Linked DNA regions of Homo sapiens: region 1 is linked to region 2. Evidence: promoter capture Hi-C in 16 types of primary human blood cells and fetal thymus (Javierre and others, 2016). All regions are on one chromosome and are shown on one strand. Each heading gives the region's core, a stretch centred on a gene start or on the middle of the fragment in contact. The rest is flanking DNA. Distances are from core to core; before and after follow the strand shown.

The links. The method cuts DNA at HindIII sites, captures the fragments that hold promoters and counts their contacts. A CHiCAGO score of 5 or more calls a contact.
Region 1: a fragment that was not itself captured here is called in contact with the fragment with the promoter of RAB6B in region 2 in 2 of 17 cell types (megakaryocytes and erythroblasts); the score reaches 6.8 in megakaryocytes.

The regions. Positions count from the first base shown.
Region 1 is chr3:134,206,847-134,210,674 of GRCh38, forward strand. It overlaps RYK (receptor like tyrosine kinase), which reads right to left. Exons shown (of 15, transcript NM_002958.4): 4 at 2,849-2,983; 5 at 626-679. Among named protein-coding and RNA genes, the nearest start is that of RYK, 42 kb to the right of the region's middle. The HindIII fragment of the contact is 3,151 bases long and covers 546-3,696 here.
Region 2 is chr3:133,894,632-133,898,300 of GRCh38, forward strand. It overlaps RAB6B (RAB6B, member RAS oncogene family), which reads right to left and starts at 1,251. Exons shown (of 8, transcript NM_016577.4): 1 at 766-1,251. The coding sequence starts at 835. RefSeq lists a silencer at 1,221-1,270. The HindIII fragment of the contact is 7,968 bases long and covers 1-3,669 here.

The DNA of each region.
Region 1 (3,828 bases), core at 871-3,370, 310 kb after region 2:
AACTTTTATATACTTGAAGTTTTCAAAACCAATTTTTTAAAGTCTACTTGCATGAAGAGAATCTAGTATCCTTTTAAGATACTGCTATTAACACTACCGCAAGAAGAGTAAGACCCAACGATGTCTTCATGTCAGAAAAAAAAAAGAAGTTTGTAATAATATCTAAACACAACCGATACCAAAAAATAAAAATCTACTTTGCATACCTGCTCTGTAGGTTTAAGTAACATAATATCTTTAAGCTTACACCTTCACCTGGATGAAATTAGCTTAAGATTAGGTCCAGACTGCAAGCCAGATTTTCTAACCCTCTGCTAATAAACATCTTACACATATTTCATGGTCATACTTTAATTATGACTACTCAAAAATATATGATATTCTTGCTTGTAAAACTTTTTAGCTTACTCGTTACAAAATACGTATAAATTTTAGTTCTCAAAATATTCAATATTCTAACAGTTTCATGACCTATCCACCAGTCTACAAAGCACCAGCAAAATAACAGCATGGTGTCATTATCATTTGATACCATGAGGCCTCCAAGCTTCATGCAATCATGTTTATATGCAGTCAACCATTTTTCATTTCTAATAATGGATAAAGATAATACAGTAACACTTACAAATAGTTCTGCTAGTGTTTTTGTCCAAGGCTGAAGTTTTTACTTCTTCAAGTTCTGAATTTAAAGGAGAAAAATGATGCTTTAGAAATTCTCTTTTCCATGAAAATCCTTAATTACTATAATTATCAGAACATTGCTGGAACTCAGCAACAGGTATGTGTTGCGAGATAATGAAAGCTATGTTACTATTCTGATAATCACCACTACAGTCACCAATCAATAGTCTATACCACTGTTAGCCAAAGGGTGTTACTTCTAGATGCTCAGTGAAAATGTTCCTATGATCAAGAAGTTTGGGAAAAGCCACATACTATAGTGTCTCTTTGGAGCTTCACAGTGAACATTAGAATATAAAGACTGAAAGGAGTTATGGGGTCACAAAACTTGTCTAACCCATAATTCCCATCCTCATATGATAAAAGAAACTTTTCTTGCTAGTAACACCTACTAACATTCCATATAGTACAGATGTTTTCTGTTGCAGACAGTTTTTGAAATATAGTAGGCTGGAAAACCAGATAAATAAATACATTAGGATCACATAATAAAGTAAGAGTCATGAGCCTGAACTGGATGACTAGGGTGGCCAAAACCATGACCAACAAATACAGAGGGCCAGAGAAAAACTTAAGTCTAAAACAGAATAGAAAATTACTCCAACACAGAATTTTAATGTTAATTTCACACACATATTAAAGAAAATGGAGAAAGTATGTGACCATTTTGAGTATCAGCTGATCATTAACCTTAGCAGATATTAGCACTGGTGGGATCCAGAGGCCACACCATGTCTGGTTATCATTCTGCCTTACTTAAGAGTAACAGATGAAGCACCATGGTACAGTCATGCCCATCTCTCTGAGGATAAGGAACTGAATGTTTTACACTCCTCACTGGCTAGCTGTGGTAGCCTAGGTGGCCAAGGGTCCAATCTCCTTATATCAAATATATAATGACTACATTGGAGTAGAGAGTCTCTGAAATCTCCTTTGTCTTTAACATTACATGGAAGTTGGTATATAACTGAATATAGTAGAACTGAAAATTGTACCAAAACACTAAAGCTGAAAGATGCTAACTCTTCTTTCTTAAAATGTCTATTCAAATGTAGTGCAGCTTTTTTATTGGCATGTACCCAGACATTAGCCAATTCAACTCACTTGTTGGCCTTAGGTGTTTTCATAACACTCAGCACTGATTTCAATTGGGAAATTTATTAAAAGAAAGTTTAACAAAGAGGCTGAGAGAACAGGTCTGCATCCTAGCTGCACCACTTAGCTATCTGATCTTGACAAGCTAGATTCTCTGAAGCTCAGCTTCCTTTTCTGAAAATGAAGACAATGAGAGAACCCATTGCCTAGGGTTGCTGTAGGGATTAAACAGGTGTAATACCTATCAAGCACTTAGAACACAGTAAGCACTGAGGGTTTGCGAGGTTTTTTTAAAGTATATTTCCCCCCCCCATCTTAGATACTAACCAATTCTACCTACGTGACCTTGTAAATTTGGGTCACTGTAGCTTTGTGGAACTTACAGTGAGTGGGTTGGACTAAACTTGTAAGGAGAACTCTAAAATTCTTTGATTTATGACCTAGCATGCTGGAACTCTTTCATATCCACTCGATTTCTTCAGTAACAGATAATTCAAAACCAAAAAGAACTAACTTTGCTAAGTACCCACATACGGTATTCTAAGTTTTAGGCTAGATTTAATGAACCGTAAAAAACAACAAACCTCTGAAACAGGTATTATGCCCATTTTACAGATGAAAAAACTAAGCCTCAGAGAGGTTAAGTAACTTGTATCAATATCCTGAAAAGAGCAGAGCTGCCATTCCAACCCAGGTCTATCTCACCCGAGAGCAATGCTTCTGCATAAAAGTAACTTGATAAGGGAAACACAGTTAACATAGTTACTCAGAAGTCCCAACAGATTTTTCTTATTTCTTTACCTCTTCAACCATTTTAGCACTATTCCTAATGGAAAACATCTTAGCAATTCTGACAAAAGATTTGAGAAAGCATGGACTGAATGAGGCCTGAGTGAGATTCTTGGCTACCAACCATCTGGGATTATCTCAAAACTTCACCTGCCAGTGCTCTTTTCTCACTTGCAACTATAATCATGAGTTGGACATACTTAAATCTGTGAAAAAACAACAAACTCTATTTTTCACCTTCTCACATACATGTAAAACATATTTTGGTAAATAAATTCCTTACTTTTGTAGCACATTTTCCTTCGTTTAAAATTTAAGACGGTAAAATTTTTTGAAGAATTTACTGTCAAGTTGAGCTGCATTAGTATCATAACTTCAGAATCTACTTTGCCAGTACAGGAAAGCTCTACCCGAAACACTGTTTAAAAAAGATAAGAAAAATATTTTACATTTTCTAAAAATCAACATTAATGCCCCAAAATGATTCTTTTAAACATTTTAGAATTACTTATTTTTGCTGCAAGAAAACTAAAAGTAATACATTTAAATAAAGTAACTAAACAAAAGTTTTTAGAGATCTTCAGACTACCACACCTCTAGACATTAAGCATTTAATTCATTATGGATATAAAAGTTAGTATTAAAGAACAAACCAAGACATCAATGAAGAGATAATTGTTTTCAACTTCTGCTCATTGTTTTTAATACACCACTTTGTCTCATAAGTCCTGCTATTCCAGTACACTAAAACTGAAGGATCATAAGGCAAACCTTAACAGACACATCAGCAATAGTAACAACAGAAATTACATGATCAAATGGAAAGACAACTCACTACCAAAATGCAAGTATGTCTGCTCTTAATAAAAAGATTAAATATAAACCTGTAAATGAATCTGATAAATTGTCAGCTATCACCTTTCTCAACAGAAATTGATTTTAATCCATAATTGTAACAATGGGATAACAGACTTCAGTGCATATAATTTTTTTCCCCAATCTTTAAGATTCTTTTCCTACAAATTTAAAACCTATCATTCTACCATCTGTATGACTGCATTAAAGATATGGGCATTTCTAAATTCCTTTACTGCCCATAAAAATTTAAGCAGCCCTCCTGTGCTTTATTTAAGCTTAATGTATGTCACTGATAACAGTGAATATGACTGCCAGAAAAAGTTTCACAACACTATTGTGGCTGATACTTTCAATTTTTAAAAATATCCATTTCTTACAAATACCACAACTTCAAGAGCCTAAGAA
Region 2 (3,669 bases), core at 1-2,500:
GGTGCCCCTGTATCATTCCCCAAATCGCCTCGAGTTGGGGTAGCCCTCACTGCAATTGCCCAGATCCCTGGGCAGCAAGGAGACTAACAAGCGCCGGCGAAGGGCAGCGGGTCTAGAACCTTCTGTGCCCAGTCGGACGTGAGCCAGGGGAGGTAGGCTCCCCGTTCCCCCATGGCCTGCACTCGCTCTTTCGAGCAGAGACAGGTGTCGCTCTTTTCTCCCCGGTGGCTGTTTGTCCCACGCCCTGGACGTGCCCTTTCGCATGGTTCCCAGCAGGGTCCGCAGGGAACACCCCTCCAGTGCAGCGGAGTGAGGCCCGGCCAGACCCCAGCTTCGCTTCGTTCTCCAAGGGGGGCGCCCGTCGCTCTCCCCACCCCCGCCAGCACCCAGCCACCTGCGCGGTCGCCCGCAGCCGGTGCCGCAGTGTGAGCTAGCCAGCGAGCCCGGTTCCTTCACGCCCTGGCCAGCGCCGCGGAGCCAGCCGCCGCCCTCCGGGCCCCCTGCAGCGCCGCACCTGCACCCACACCCCGGGCCCCCCACCCAGAGCCCACCCTCACCTCCACCCCAGGCTCCAGCGCCTCCTCCGTCCTCACCCTTGGCCCCTCCCCAGCCCGACCCCGCCCCGACCTCCCCATCCCTGTCCCTCTCCTCTACCCTGGCAAGGAGGGGCCTTTCCGAGCCTGGGCCGGGGGTCCCAATGGGGTGGGCGATTGGGCGGCGGGGGTCGACTCGGCGACAAGCCAAGAGATTAAGCCGGGTACTTACCGCTCTGCTCCCCCAAGAACACCAACTTGAATTTTCTCAGTGGATTCCCAAAATCTCCCCCTGCGGACATGGTGCTGGCAGCCGGGGCCGGGAGAGGAGGAGGAGGAAAAAGCGAAGGAGCAGGGAGGGGAGAGTAGGAGGGCGAGGGGAGGCGGCCGGCGGTGCGGGAGCCGGAGGGGGAAGGGCTGGCTGCGCGCGTCCCTGACTCCCCAGCTGCGTCCCGGTCCCGGCCTGCGGCTGCGTGTCCGGCGGCGGAGGAGGAGGAGGAGAGAGAGGCGGAGGCGGAGGAAGGCTGGGGCTGGGCTGCTGCGGTCGGCACTGGCTGCGGTGCGAGGGGCGCGCTCTTTACGCCCGAGGCGCGGCGCTGGGAGAGAGGCGCGGGCGGAGCGGGGCGCAGGGACGGCGCGCGGGGCGGAGGAGCGCTCTCCAGAGCCGCGCCAGTCGGCCCCCTCCCGCCTGCCTCCTCCGCCGGCGCCTGCGCTCTGTGCGCTCCCCAGCCTCTGATGTCATGCGGGGCCCGCGGGGCTGCGGGGCTGGGGGGCGTGCGCCCGCCCACCCGAGCCCGCACCCGGGCAGGAGAGAACCTCCTCGCCGTACCCCTGAGAGCCCCCCGGGGGGGACCGTGTCTCGCTGCCCCGCTGCGTCTGTCTTCCCCACTCTACCCCTCTTTTGAATCCAGAAAATGACAGAAATTGTCAGGGGACATTTGTTTCTGGTCTTTTAAACCTAGATGCCAGTCCCTTCCTCCACCTCGCGAGACACCGATGCACAGCGCAGTCGTCCGACCGACAGGGCGGAAAGGAACGAAGGTGGGGGAGAGCCAGGGTGTGGCGAGGCCCGTCAGGGCGGTCAGACCTAGGGAAACCTGGCGTACTTGGCGCAGATGGGGCTCGACTCTTGCCCCCCGTGGCTTCTAGCCCGCCCTTCCCTCTCGAGGCCTAGACCCTTTATTTGGGCGGCCTCTTGTGGAGTCTGTGGGTGCCCCCGCAGACCTGGCCAGCGAGAGAGGAGCTGCCAATATCAGGCGCGCCTACCTCAAACCAGCTGCTCATTTGGATCATTTTATGCCAAATCCTAACCTGCCCCATGGGAGAGAAGGAACGGTGACGCTCTGAATGCCAGTGCCACTATCTCCAGGACAGTGCCCTGCGTTTCTTGATCCCGGGGTCGCCAGGCTGACAATGCCACTCCCCACCCTGGCAATTAGGTGTATCTGGACAATGAGCTATCTGAGGACATGTGGGCGACCTCTCCTTGGCCTCTACTTGCCTGGTCCATCGAGGCACACAGACCAAGTTGTGAGTGAGTGAGAGCAAAGAGCAGACGCCAAGTGCTAGAAACACTCCCAAGACAGCCCGAGCCTAAGGCATGCTGGTTAATTGAGGTTTTACAAAGCTGTCCCTTACTGTTCTGCCACAGCGTGGTCTTGTTCATTTATGGCTGTTCAGTGAGCATTTATTTGAGATAATAATCTGCATGTCGGTGAACACGATGGTGTGTGCACGCATGTGTTATAGAAAGAGAAAGAGGAGTGAGACACAACCTTCACCTCCAGATTTCTCGTGGACACTTGTTACCCCCTTTTTGACTTATGGGGCTTGCTTGGGCAAGCCTATCTGTCTCCCTGGTGTGCTCACCTCGAATCTCTTTCCTATTTCTTGTTAGAAACCTGACCACAAGTTCCATAAAAGCAGTAGTTGAAGCTCCACCACTGCATCCCAAGGACATAGCTCAGAGTTTAAGAAATAGTTGTTGAATGTTTGAATGAACATCTAGAACTCAAATCAAAATAACTGTCCTATTCTCATAATTACCTTTAGTTTGGAACCCCAGGGATTGTAAGTCATCACCTAGAATATCTGCCCCGTTGTGGCTGGCACCAGGCTCAGGGTAACCCTCCAGACACCCACCCACTTCTCTGGGGCTCCTGCTCTCTTAGGAGACCATATCCAGCTTGGGGTTGAAGAAAGCTCTGAAAGGAGAGGAGACTCCCAAGTCACAGCCCTTCCCGTCTCTATAAGTGATCCCTCCAAAGAAGGGCCAGTGAGCTACTGGCCAAGGTACCCAGCCATGCAACACTCCTCCAACCTGCACCTTCTCCTAACATCTAGTGCTGTCTCCCTGTACCCTCTCATCCTGACCTGATGAGATCATCGGTGGCAAGACAAAACAGCTGAGGTGTGCCAGAAAAGGCACCATCTTTTGGGTAAGCCTAGGCAGGTCCTGTACCTCCTCTGATCATCTGGTCCCGCACATGTAAGGTGGTATGGCAGTAGGGGAGGGAGGGCTGGGGCAGGGCCCCTCTGGGCACCTCTAAGCCTCCAAGTCATCCCATATGCTTACCAGGTCCAGCTGGGCTGACTATGGTCCAGCTTACTTTGGGGGACTCTGTCATAATTCTTCCAGTTCAAATGACAAAAACCCGGCTCCGACTACCGGGCTCACGTCGCTGGAGCAGATACTGGCATTGCTCTCAGAATGCAGTCATCATGCTGTGGAAATGAGAGCCTTAGAGACTCCAAGTTTGCTCTGCTCCAAGTCTCTCTCCTCCAACTATCATTGCTTATCTCCCCTGATTTTGAGTCTTGTCCTTAACCTGCCCTAAAGCAGACAGACTTTCTCCAGGTGGAAAATGGGGCCACTGAACCTCAGCCTGGCAACCTCACTAGAAAGAGTTTCTTCCATATCATAGAATCTGTGCATTCCATTTAAAAAAATTCTTTAAATCTTCCTATTTAGTATGTGCTGTGTATATGTAAGTTACAAAGAAAACCTATCACTCTGAGTGCCCATTTACCCTCTACACAGCTGGAGGGCTCAAATATTATAGTACTTTTCAGGCCCCCAGGTGCTTTCTTCTCCTTCCTCCCTCCCCAACTTGGAAATCCAGAATCTTAGCTTTTC